Regions from separate parts of the Homo sapiens genome. Here regions 2 and 3 are each linked to region 1. The links are contacts of gene promoters, found by promoter capture Hi-C in blood cells and fetal thymus (Javierre and others, 2016). All regions are on one chromosome and are shown on one strand. The core of a region is centred on a gene start or on the middle of the fragment in contact, and the rest is flanking DNA. Distances in the headings are between cores, read along the strand shown.

Evidence for each region. Contacts are between HindIII fragments. The CHiCAGO score rates a contact against its expected background, and 5 or more counts as called.
Region 2: a fragment that was not itself captured here is called in contact with the fragment with the promoter of LINC01537 in region 1 in 4 of 17 cell types (M2 macrophages, M0 macrophages, M1 macrophages and 1 more); the score reaches 6.8 in M2 macrophages.
Region 3: a contact is called between a fragment that was not itself captured here and the fragment with the promoter of LINC01537 in region 1, in 1 of 17 cell types (M1 macrophages). The highest score is 5.1, in M1 macrophages.

Annotation. Positions count from the first base shown.
Region 1 is chr11:72,567,504-72,572,008 of GRCh38, forward strand. LINC01537 (long intergenic non-protein coding RNA 1537) reads left to right here and starts at 3,153. Exons shown (of 2, transcript NR_126364.1): 1 at 3,153-3,404; 2 at 3,525-4,505. The HindIII fragment of the contact is 19,866 bases long and covers 1-4,505 here.
Region 2 is chr11:72,462,829-72,467,047 of GRCh38, forward strand. No RefSeq gene overlaps it. Among named protein-coding and RNA genes, the nearest start is that of CLPB, 30 kb to the left of the region's middle. The HindIII fragment of the contact is 531 bases long and covers 2,146-2,676 here.
Region 3 is chr11:72,446,937-72,451,568 of GRCh38, forward strand. No RefSeq gene overlaps it. Among named protein-coding and RNA genes, the nearest start is that of CLPB, 15 kb to the left of the region's middle. The HindIII fragment of the contact is 936 bases long and covers 1,001-1,936 here.

The sequences.
Region 1 (4,505 bases), core at 1,903-4,402:
TCGCCTGCCACTCACCTCCTGCTGTATGGCCTGGTTTCTAACAGGCCAGGGACTGGGACTGGTCCATGGCCTGGGGGTTGCGGATCCCTGTAACAGATGGTCAATTTTTCAAATACTCTGTATGTGCAGAAAATTGTATATTCTCTGTTGCATGTAGGGGATGTGTATATACAGTCTTTGACTGTCCCATCTTTATCCATTCCAACCAGCAGTGAATACTGTTAGGAACTCTGATGATAACCTGGTTCATTCTCCTTTTTAGGTGACCTGCATTTTCTCTCTGGAAGTTTTTGGAATTTTCTCTTTGCATTGGTAGTGTTAAATTTATGAAATAATGCATCTGGTTGGAAGTTTGTCCTTATCTCCCATGATTGACACTCTCAGATCCCTTTAAATTTTAGGTCTTTCAATTTTTTAATATAGTATATTTATGTCCACTGTTTCTATAAATATTTCCTCCAATTTGTTTATCCTTTCATCTGGGATATCTATTGCCTGGATGTTGGCATTTCTACTTCTATCCTCCACATCTCTTATATTTTATTTTCTCGTATACCTTCTATTTCTTGATCCCTTTCCAACCGCCTTTATCAAGAGTTTGTCCAGCTGATCCTCAAAGTTCACTATTTCTCTCTTCAGTTGAATCCTCCCTGCTCTTCTCATCTGTCCCCTTCTTTATTCCAACTATAATCTTTTCATCCCTGATACTTCTACTTGGCTCTTTTTTTGTTTGTTTTTTTGTTTTGTATTTTTGAAGACAGGATCTTGTTCTGTTACCAAAGCTGGAGTGCAGTGGCACAATCATGGCTCACTGCAGTCTCGACCTCCTGGGCTCAAGCGATCCTCCCACCTCAACCTACCGAGGAGCTGGGACTATACAGGTGTATACTACCACACCCAGCCAATTTGGGTATTTTTTTTTTGGAGAGACAGGGCCTTGCTATGTTGCCCAGGCTGGTCTCAAATGGTTCTTTTTGAATGATTTCTTGTTCTTACTTCATGTTGCTAATATCTTCCCTTATCTCTTTAGGGAAATTTAAAGCATTTATTTTACATTCTGGACCCATCTGTTAAAGTCTGCCTGATTTGTCTGTGTTGTTTGGTTTTCTTTCTTTTCTCTCTCTCTTTTTTTTTTTTTTTTAGACAGTCTCACTCTGTCGCCTAGGCTGGAGTGCAGTGGCACCATCTCTGCTCACTGCAAGCTCCGCCTCCTGGGTTCACGCCATTCTCCCGCCTCAGCCTCCTGAGTAGCTGGGACTACAGGCGCCCGCCACCACACCCGGCTAATTTTTTTTTGTATTTTTAGTAGAGACGGGGTTTCACCGTGTTAGCCAGGGTGGTCTCGATCTCCTGACCTCGTGATCCGCCCACCTCGGCCTCCCAAAGTGCTGGGATTACAGGAGTGAGCCACAGTGCCTGACCTGTTTTCTTTCTTTTAGTTGTATTCTTTTGACCTGTGGACCAATGTTTCCCTCAGGGCAGCATGACTCGGATTGGTAATATGTGCTGGGGATGAGCTGAAGGCAGCATCCTAATCTGTGCTGGGTCCTGACCAAGGCGAGGACAAGATGTGAGGCCCAGGCACCCCACAGCCACAGCTGGACACTCCCTTCTGCTGGAGCCTCCTCTGACTGGAATATCTAGAAAAGAAGCAGCCCTAGGCATCTCCCTGGATTGTGAGCCACCCATCCTAGGGACTGGGGAGAGAAAGTGCTAGGATGATGCCCACGGGGACCTGGCTGGCCCCTCCTCACTGAATCAACTCACATCAGGAGTTTGTGCACAGGTGAAATGGGAGGCAGTGACTGTCCAAGCACTCCTCTCCAACCCAGTTCTCACTTTTATCTCTCCCTGCTCCCAGCGCACCCCAGGCTGCCGTGGAAAAATTAAGTGAGAAACTGAGAATGATAGTGAGAGAAATCTGTCACAGCTGACTGCATCTTCCTTCTAACCTCACAAGCACATCGTCTGCTCATTCCTGGGCACAGGCCAAGCCAACTATGGGAGGAATTTAGTTTATAGTTTAATTTTAAAACAAAAATGAGGCTGGGTGCGGTGGCTGACACCTGTAATCCCAGCACTTTGGGAGGCCGAGGCAGGCAGATCATGAGGTCAGGAGATTGAGACCACCCTGGCTAACACGGTGAAACCCCATCTCTGCTAAAAATACAAAAAATTAGCTGGGCATGGTGACGGGCACCTGTAGTCCCAGCTACTCAGGAGGCTGAGGCAGGAGAATGGCATGAACCCGGGAGACAGAGCTTGCAGTGAGCCGAGATCGTGCCACTGCACTCCAGCCTGGGCGACAGAGCAAGACTCCGTCTCAAACAACAACAACAACAACAACAAATGATGATAGCCTCTTCCTGAAACTAACCCCCTTTTTGCAAGGGGACCAAAACTGCCTTTATAAAACTTTATAAAACTAACAAATTGTCCATAAGTTTAGAATTATGGCTTAGAAGTTATGAAGCCAAAGGTCACAAGATTTGTAACCTCCCCAATTGCTCCTATAGATAACACCACTATTGTAAAACCTAAGACCGGTATTTGAGATATTTTTCAGACCTTGCATTCTGAGGAACCAGATGTTACCACCCAGACCAGTAACCTAAGTCAGGAAACTGACTCAACCAGTCCTGTGACCCCCACCCAGGAACTGACTCAGTGCAAGAAGACAGCTTCAACTCCCTGTGATTTATTCTTCAACATTCCCCATTTCCTAGTCCCCTGCCCACCAAACTATACTTAATAAACCCTACCCTCCAAATTCTCAGGACGGCAGATTTGAGAAACATCTCCTGTCCTTGGCTGGCCCTGTGATTATTAAACTCTTTCTTTGCTGCAGCACCTGCTGTTCTCAGTGCATTAGTCTTTCTGGGCAGCAGGCAAGAAGAACTTGTTGGGCTATAACACTGTTGTCTTTTCCTAGAATCCTATGCATCCCAATCAGTTCTGTAGTTCTCCCAGGGGTGATTTAGGGATTGAGAGTGGCAGCCATCTTGGCAGGATGTTGCCACACCTCCCATTCTCACATCTGACCCACCAGTCCCCAAACTTGATGTTGTGCTTTGTTTCCTGTATGGACTGATCTTGGTATTCCCTCAGAGAAAAATCTGGCTGTGCCGTCTATCAGACTTCATTCCCACACAGCTGCCCAGACACAGGGCAGCCTTCCTCTCAGAACATCTTCTGTATCCTGAAAGCCTCCAGTGGGTTCATCCTTCAAGTTAATGGACAGGAAAACTAAGACCAGTGAGGAATCCCAACACTCATCCTGCCAGGATAGAAAGGAAAGCCCAGAGGCATTGCAAAGAGTGCTGAAGAGCAGGGATTCGCTGTATGGGGACAACTCTTGCTTTGTGTTTCAGGACAGGGAACCCAGGAGTGCAAACCTCAGTCAGGTAAGAGGCCTGCCCTGACATCCTTGATCCTCCCACACCACCCATGCTGCCTCCTCCCCTGATTTCCCATGCCCCTTCCTTCATTCCTGCCCCAACCCTGATTCTCCCTTCTCTCCCCAGGTGCAGTCCAGAGCCTGTCTTGAGCATAATGGCTGCTCTGCTCTGCCCCCGACCCTCACCACCTCCAGCGGGGTTCATCATCCCAGTTTATGGACAGAAAAACTAAGACTAGAGGGGGAGGGCTTAGCTCCTGCTCGGAGGAGACCTTCAACTCCTTCACCTGCCTGGACTTGGCACCCTCCCAAGAGACTGCAACCAAGGTTATGAAAATAGCATCTACTCACCATCCTTCCTCAGCACACCCCCAACCAATCCACCCCTCAGTCCCACCCCTGTCTCAAGGAGACTGAGCCCCGAGAAGCACAGCCTCCTGCACCTCCTCACCTCCCAGCCTGCCTTCCTGGTCTATCTGCAATGTCCTCAAGTCCTTTCCCGTCCTCCTCATCCAAACTCCAAGACCTGCCTCACCTCACCCTCCTCCAGGAAGCCCCCTTCATGGTCTGGGTTCACTCCCTGTCATGACGTCCGCCCTCACCAGCACAGCACCAAGCCTTGCAATGCTCTCTAGTAGTTATTTCCTGCACAGAGAAGGGGTGAGGGAAGCATCATTTCTGCCTATCCCTGTTCACACGCAAGGCTGGCTCTGCCTTCCCAGGGACCGTTCTGCAGAGGGAGACCGCTCATCAGGCAGGTACCACCTCCAGGGATCTCACTAAGGTAGAACTGATGGGCCTCAGTTCTGTTCAGAGAACAGCTATACAGGCTGGAGGCCTCCAAGAAACAGTTTCCATTTTCCCTGAGGAGTCTGTATGGATGTGTACTGTACAGGGTATAGGCTGTATGGAGTCTGCAGGTAAACATGCCTGTGTGTCAAAGAATGAGTCTGTATGGGTGTGTACTGTACAGGGTATATGCTGTATGGAGTCTGCAGGTAAACATGCCTGTGTGTCAAAGAATGAGCATGTGTGTGTGTGCATGTGTCAGCATGAGAATGCCTCTGTGTTTGTGAGTGTGAGAGGGTCATATAGGTGCAGCATTCTG
Region 2 (4,219 bases), core at 1,161-3,660, 110 kb before region 1:
CAGCTGATAATTTTTCTATTTTCTCACCAACATTGATGTTAAACAACACTCAAACCAAGCCATGTTTTCATTAGTTTTATTCCCCCAATTTCTAAGTCTCCAATTCATTTTCTCTTTTAACCTCAGCTGAAGCATCCTCGGGCTGGCTACCAAGTGTGCACATCCAGATGATCTGACTGATAAGCATCAGTTGCACATCAATCATCCAAAAGGAAAAAGAAGTGCCAACCATCCTAGAGTAGCCTCAAAGCAAGTACCAAACGCTTATAAGGGCAGCATATAGACGAATACCATTGCTCACAGTTTCATTCCAATTTTTCCTCTAGTTTCCTCCAGCTGGACCTTACCATTTAAATCTATTTTCCTTCCCTTTGATTTTTTCCCCTTTTACTTGGTGCTCAAAAAAATTGTTTTTTTCTTCAGGATTGGAGGTCAAATAAATTTTGTTTTGTTTTTAGTGGTTTTAGAACTGAACTCCATTTTCTCAAAGGTCCTAGGGTACATATCTTTTACTCTCCTTACTTGTCTTCCCAATTTGCTTATAACATTGTTTGGGGTTCCTTTATTTGTTACTTCTGTAACTTTAAATGCTAACTTACACTTTTATTTCTTGTTTCATTGCCTATGGGCTGTTTCTTGACCTCAAGTTTTTAAGATATTGGTGCTCTTGTTCTTTATTTACTCTTCCTTTTATCTTCCACCTCTGTTTCTAGCATCTGTGCTTTTATGTTAACATTGTCAAGTTAAAAACACTGATATTGCTTGATGATACTGTCTTATAAAAATAAATAAAATAAAAACATTGATAGTCTCTTCTTTTGCCATAATACATTCTGTTCAATCTAAAAGTTAAAAATCAATATGTGAATACATACAATCTATATTAGTTAAGAATATTTTCATTGTATGCAAGACTATTTTCATTGTAAGCAAAAAGTGGATTGATAGGCTCATGCAATACAAAAGTCCCAGATTAGGGCTGGCTACAGGTGTAACTGAGACAGGAGCTTGTGAAACATAATCAGGACATGGATCCCCTCTGTCCTTTGGCTCTGCTCCCCAGTTTGTGTTGGTCTCATTCGCAGAGAGAGTGTCTCTCCCCTGTGGTTTTGATATGACTGTCGGCGACTTCTGGGGCAACATCATTCCACATTCATGTCCAGTAGGAAAGTGTGAAAATCTTTGCCTCAACTTTTCATCTAAAGTCATAAGACTCCCTGTGATGGGACATCTTGGGGCAAGTGTTGCCTCTTAACCTGTCAGGTCATTGGTGAGTGCTTTGTGTTGTTTATCTTAAGCCTGGCTTATATGGGCCACCCTTAGACTTGAGAGCAGAGCCCCACTTAAATCAAATGGCTGATTGGAGAAGGGCCTTGAGCTAATTGGGGAATAGATATTATGTAATTCTCCATTTCCTTGTAATTTTCCTTCAACCCCAACTTCCTTTAACCTCAATGCCCATCTCCCCTCCCCTCATATATATCAATTCTCTTAAACAGAACCCTGGGAGAAAGTTTCAGGCCTCACACTCCTAATTTCTCCTTCTCCTTCTCCTTCTCCTTCTCCTTCTTCTTCTCCTTTTCCTTCTCCTCCTCCCTCCTCCTCCCCCCTCCTCCCCCTCCCCTTCCCTTTCCCTCTCCCTCTCCCTCTCCCTCTCTCTGTCCCTCTCCTTCTCCTTTCCTTATTCTTCTTTTTGAGACAGGAGTCTTGCTCTGTCACCCAGACTGGAGTGCAGAGGTGCAATCATGGTTCACTGCAGCCTCAACTTCCCAGGCTCCAGTGATCCTCCTACTTCAGCCTCCAGAGTAGCTGGGACTACAGATGCGGGCCACTATGCCTGTCTAATTTTTGTATTTTGGGGAGAGATGGGGTTTCACCATGTTGCTCAGGCTGGTCTCAAGCTCCTGAGCTCAAATGATCCACCCACCTTGGTCTCCCAAAGTGCTGGGATTACGGGCGTGAGCCACTGTGCCTGGTGACACCTCCAAGTTCTGAGTAGGTAGACTCTTCTGAGAGCTCCATCTCCTGAGCATTTCCTGGAATGGGTACAGAGAAGAGGAGAGAATGGTAGTGTAGATTCACCAGGAAAGGATTTTGAAGCAATTTTTTAGAAATGAAAGACAATGGCTTTTCAGAAGGGAACAAAGCTTTCATTACCTCCTTAACTTTCTCTAAATACTCCAGGAGATCAAATTTCTTGACTCCATATTCTCCAGCTCCCTCCCTGTTGGAGTCCTCCACCTTCCTCCTCCAATCTGGACTGGTTGCCTACTGGGATTTCCCTTCATTAACCTACTGGCTTCAATCTCAAGTCACATCTTTGTTGGTTTACTCACTTTTTTTTTTTAAATGGAGTCTCTCTCTGTCACCCAGGCTGGAGTGCAGTGGCTCGATCTCAGCTCACTGTAACCTCTGCCTCCTGGGTTCAAGCGATTCTCCTGCCTCAGCCTCCCTAGTAGCTGGGATTACAGGCATGCGCCACCACACCCGGCTAATTTTGGTATTTTTAGTAGAGACGGGGTTTCACCATGTTGGCCAGGCTGGTCTCAAACTCCTGACCTCAAGTGATCTGCCCGACTCTACCTCCCAAAGTGCTAGGATTACAGGCCTGAGCCACAGTATCCGGCCTAGACCATGACTAATTCTTAAGAGAAATAAGCCAATGAACAATGGAAAAGCTTTGAGAAAGGGCCCAGTGAGAGGGAGATTCTGCTTGAAATGTTCAGGAATCATTGGGGTGGGATAGAAGAGTGGAATAGAGAAGAATAGAGAGAATCCTGTAAAATATCTGAGCCCTGGTCACAACTCTGGCCAATGCTATTTCTATTGCATCCACTCTATCAGGAAGATCCCTTCATCTCAACCCTTTTTCTATGGGTTTCTCCAGGACAGGGAATAGCCATGAACAGTATGTTCATAGTCACATCCATCTCAGACTGAAGCATGCACAGGGTTTCCCTCTGAGAAGCTAGGTGGTACTAAATGGTTGGAGTCCTTTTCTATTTTTTTTTTTTTTTTTTAGTCTTTATATACAATAGAGTTATCTTTTGACTTCTAGTTCAAGATAGAGAATATGTGTTTGTGTCTTTTCCTACATAAGAACCCATTTCATGATAGAAAATAAAATTTAAGGCCGGGCACAGTGGCTGGCGCCTGTAATCCCAGCACTTTGGGAGGCCAAGGTAGGCGGATCACCTGAGCTCAGGAGTTCGAGACTAGCCTGGCCAACATGGTGAAACTCCGTCTCTACTAAAAATACAAATATTAGCCGGGCGTGGTGGCACAGGTCTGTAATCCCAGCTACTGACAGGAGAATCACTTGAAACTGGGAGGCGGAGGTTGCTGTAAGCCGAGATTGCACCATTGCACTCCAGCCGGGGTGACAGAATGAGATTCCACCTCAAAAAAAAAAAAAAAAAAAAGAAAATTTAAAAAGTTATAAACCCACAGCAAACAGAAAATAAGAGAGAGGCTATCAATGTAAGAGAAATTTCAATGCATTTTGAAGAGAAAGAAAGTGAATGAAGAGGTAGTTACAGGTGAGGCAGGTGCTGGAAGCTGCAGCGTGGAATATGCAAGGGTGTGTGGGGAACAGAGTTGAGAACCCAAGAGAACCCTAAGACACAGAAATGCTAGGACAGCCACAGGAGGAAAGACGACTCACCCATGAAAACTGGGAAATAAATTGAAGTTCTATAGATAGAACATTGTACCCTTCTTGCACCCTCTCCTGCCCCACCCACACACAGAAACCCTAGCAGGCAGGCATCTGTCTCTCAAGCAAATATTTAGAGCATGCTTCTCTAACATCTACACTCTTGCTAGCTGGTTACTAGATCAGCCTAGAACAAATCCCTCCAATAAACGAGCCCAGTACATGCTCCTAGAATCCCAGTTAGGTATTTATGGCTCATTCTTAAAAATAAAAGAAGTATTCCCAGGCATCTGAAAGCCTGCAAGATGAAATAGAGTAACCAAGAGGCTATGAAGAACAAGAACAAGGCTGGGGCGGGGTAGCTCATGCCTCTAATCCTAGCACTTTGGGAGGCTGAGGCAGGAGGATTGCTTGAGCCCAGGAGTTCAAAACCAGCCTGGGCAACATAGGGAGACCCTGTCACTAATAAAAATTCAAAAAAAAAAAAATGTCAGCTGGACGCGGTGGCTCACACCTGTAATCCCAGCACTTTGGGAGGCCAAGCCAGGCGGATCATGAGGTCAG
Region 3 (4,632 bases), core at 219-2,718, 120 kb before region 1:
AAGTAGGGAGGGAAGAAGAGTTTACTTTCCACTGTATACTTGAATTCTGTTCTATATGTACATATTACATATTCAATCCAATCAACCAATCCCTATTATTTCTATATCAATATTAACTTTAAACTACTTCTGCCATCAGGTAGAGGGAGTGCTTTTAATTTCATCCAGACTGCCACATTTTTTCTCAAGTAGAGACACTGACATCTTGTGGGCTTTTGGGATAATGCAGTGAAATAGCATTAAAATCAGCATATTCACCATTCCATTCCATTCCACTCCACTCCATTCTTCTCAACAAATTATTTGGCATTCAATGCCTATGCTGGGCTTTTGTCCAACTCTCTAAAGCTTACAAAGTTTCAATAATATTCAGCCTCATTTATTGAGCACCTGTAAGGCATGGGTTACTGAAACTGTAGTCATGAAGAAGCCATGGAGCTCTGGAGGGGCATGCAGACAATAGGCCATGTCAGCAGAGAGTGGTGAGTGCCACGATTGAGATAATTCTGGTGTCCCTGGGAGCACATAGCAAGCCGAGTGGTCAGAGAAGGCTTCCTGAAGGAAGTGACATCTAAGCTGAGCTCTGCAGGAGGAGCTAGAATTGACCAGACGAAAGGGATTACAGTAGCTGATGTAGGGTGGGGCACTTGGAGAATAGGGTCACTGTAGGTAAAGGGAACCCTACGGGCAAATGAGCAGAGGCAAGAGTGCAATTCTTTTTTTTTTTTTTTTTTTTTTTGGCAATGCATGTTTGAGGAACTGAGTGTTCAGTGTGGATTAAGTGTAGAGTGGGAGGGGCTAAGAGGGGATAATGAGGCTGAACCAGAGGGGTTAAGTAACTTACTAGGTTCTCCCAGCAAGTACTTAGTGCACCAAGAATTTGAACCCAGGGCTAAATGACTTAACCATTTTCTCTTATACTCATCATGAAGACTTTGCTCCACGAGCCTTTACTAGACCCCATGCCTACTGCCACTCTGCTTCTTCCAACTGGGCACAAAGCTTAGCCAACTGCTTTCCCTCTCTTGCTCCTTATTTCCCTCTCCTTCCTTCCTTCCACATTGCTTGTTTTCTGCAGCCTTGGTGCTAGGGAGAAGACAGAGAAGGCACTTTGGGTCAGGAGGTGATAATTCAGATCTCAGAGGAACTGTCCACTCTGCTCATGTTGATAGATAAAGCTGATAGATGAAAATGATTCCTGCATCAGAGCCTCTCTCCGTCTCTCCAGCTTAGTAGAGCAGGGTGGGGCCTGGGGTGGGGATGGTGGATGAGCCCTGGCATTGAAAGCTGCGTCTCTCGGTAGTAGCCCTCTGTCTGTTCATGGGCAAATAAATGTGTGTACGTGTTTACTGAGTGCTTACTATGAGCAAGACTCTGCTTTTGCTGCTTATGCTACATTAATTCCAACAACAATCCTATGAGGAAGAGATTCTCTCCACTTTACAGATTCAAAAAACCCAAAATGGAGCAGCCTTGCTAGTGAAGTATGCAGCATGTCAGTCTCAAAAAAAAAAAAAAAATATATGTATATATATATATATATAAAGGTTAAGTAATTTGGCCAGGGTCACCTAGCTTGTAAATGGCAAAAATGGGGCTCAAATGGTCTGAATCCAAAGCCCAGACTGTTTACCACTACAAAATCCCAGCTCCTAGGAAAAAACAAAGATCCACATGTGATAGATATCCTTGAAGTTTGCCTAAGGTATGGAGGAAGAGAAGAATTGAAAGTATAGTCAACACAGTGCTGAGCCAATATGATACATTCTGAGCTGTGATGTGTGCGAGGGTGCACTCTCACATAACTGAACCAAAGGCACAAACAAATGAAAGGGAGGAAGGAAAACTCCAGGCAGGAAGGAATTCCCAGATGCTCAGCTGCACAGATGGCTCTTCCTTGAGAGCTAATGGGATGACCACCATCACTCCTTTTCCAAGCTTGAAGGCTCCCAGTCTTTCTAACTGGACAGGCATAAGACAAACTCTTTTTTCTTCTTCATTCATCTGAGATATTGGACAGCCTTCAAATATAACCTTACTAGAATGCTGACAAAATAACAAAACCTTAAAAAGCAAAGGGACAAGTGTAATTCTAGAGCACATATTTTTGATAGAACGGCGAGTGAGTGAACTCTGGCCATAGATGTGCTGGCTGGGCCCTCTGGTGGGCAATGAAACTTCTACTCTTTCCTTTCCCTCCACCCCATATCTGTTTTGCTTGGATGATGGAGCAAGCTACTTTGTCTCCTGTCACAGGATGGGTTCTCTGGAAGCAGAAGCTGAGATAGAGCTGTGGGTGCAAGATGGTTATTAGGGATCAATATCTGTGAGGAGAAGCGGGAGGGAGCAGGATTGGGCAGAGGAAGAAACTGAACTGTGATGCAGACCTGGCCAAGGCTTGGTCAACTGTATTAGTCCATTCTCACGCTGCTATGAAGAAATACCCAAGACCGGGTAATTTTTTTTTTTTTTTTTTTTGAGACGGAGTCTCGCTCTGTTGCCCAGGCTAGAGTGCAGTGGCACGATCTCGGCTCACTGCAACCTCTGCCTCCCGGGTTCACGCCATTCTCCTGCCTCAGCCTCCGGAGTAGCTGGGACTACAGGCGCCTGCCACCATGCCCAGCTAATTTTTTTTTTTTTTTTTTTTTTAGTAGAGACGGGGTTTCACTGTCAAGATGGTCTCGATCTCCTGACCTCATGATCTGCCCGCCTCAGCCTCCCAAAGTGCTGGGATTACAGGCGTGAGCCATCGCGCCCAGCCAAGACTGGGTAATTTATAAAGGAAAGAGGTTTAATTGACTCACAGTTCCTCATTGCTGGGAAGCCCTCAGGAAACCTAATCATGGCAGGAGGGGAAGCAATCACGTCCTTCTTCACGTGACGGCAGGAGAGAGAAGAATGAGAACCGAGCAAAGGGGGAGCCCCTCATAAAAGCATCAGATATCATGAGAACTTACTATCACGAGAATAGCATGGGGGAAACTGCCCCCATGCTTCAATTACTTCCCATTGGGTCCCTCTCACGGCACGTGGGAATTATGGGAACTACAATTCAAGATGAGATTTGAGTGGCGACACAGCCAAACCATATCAACAACCCAGAGTTACTCCAGAGTATTGACTGTCGGAGCGGTTCTGCATCAGACTAAGTGGCTGAGCCTCTGTAACCCTTTTCCGTTCCCCTGACCTCCAACCTAGCTCAGTCACCAGCAAGGGCTGCTGAAGCAGACTCTGAAAGAGCTCACGGCAACAGTCTGTCTGCTGACTACATTCTCTAAGCCTGGGCAGCAAGTGTTTCCTTGAAGACTGATGTGAGCAGTACATGTCTATGACCACCAACATTTTTAACATTGTTCATTCGCTGATTGATTATTCAATGTGTTGGGTGCTAGCCACCATGTTGGGTGCTAGGGGACAGAAGAGGATACAGGGATGAAGCACAAGTGGATCCCACCCTCAAGTTTGGCCTAGTGGGGGACTCGGATCACTATGGATTAGGGCAGTGAATTCAGAAGGCAGGAGAATACCTAGACAGGGTCATTGCTCCTACTTAGGCAACCTCTGCTCGGGGTCCCTCTCAGTAGAACTTTTCCAAAAAAAGTAGTTCACATTTGGCCGGGTGCAGTGGCTCACGCCTGTAATCCCAGCACTTTGGGAGGCCGAAGCGGGTGGATCACGAGGTCAGAAGATCGAGACCACCCTGGCTAACACGGTGAAACCCCGTCTCTACTAAAAATACAAAAAATTAGCTGGGCGTGGTGGTGGGCGCCTGTGGTCCCAGCTACTCAGGAGGCTGAGGCAGGAGAATGGTGTGAACCCGGGAGGCGGAGCTTGCAGTGAGCCGAGATCGTGCCACTGCACTCCAGCCTGGGCGACAGAGCAAGATTCTATCTTCAAAAAAAAAAAAGCACCAAGTTATGACACTATTTATTATTATTATTATTATTACTTTTTTTTTTTTTTTGGCAGATGCCAAAATCTTGGTGTTTCCCGAATTTGCAGCCCTTTTCTGTACAGGCCTATGACTGCAAAAGAAAGGCACTCCCTGCCAGGTGCACTGGTTCATGCCTGTAATCCCAGCACTTTGGGAGGCCAATTACTTTTCTTCTATAGAGAATCTACTCTTCTGTGCCATCAAAAACTCAGGATGCACGGGACAGAAGGGAGGGAGTGGTGGGAGACGGGGCTGAAAGGTAGGCTGGAATTAGCTTGTGAGAAGCCTTATGAGCAATGCTAAGGAATTTAGAATTGATTTACTGAGGAGGTGATCACACTTCAGATGACTGGTTATTGTGATGGGGGTTTAGTGGATAGCAAGAAGGTATCAGATCAGAAAAACAAGCCAGATTTTGGGGATGTGAAAAGGTTCTTAATAGGTAGCAAGGATAGGTAGCAAGGAGAAGACATAAGAATTTCCATGGAGTTTGGATGCAACAGCAAGAGCACCATTAATTCGTAGGAGTGCCTTTCTTTCTTTCTTTCTTTCTTTCTTTCTTTCTTTCTTTCTTTCTTTCTTTCTTTCTTTCTTTTTTTTTTTTTTTTTTTGAGACAGAGTCTCACTGTGTCACCCAGGCTGGAATGCAGTGGCGTGATCTCGGCTAGCTGCAACCTCTGCCTCCCGGGTTCAAGCAA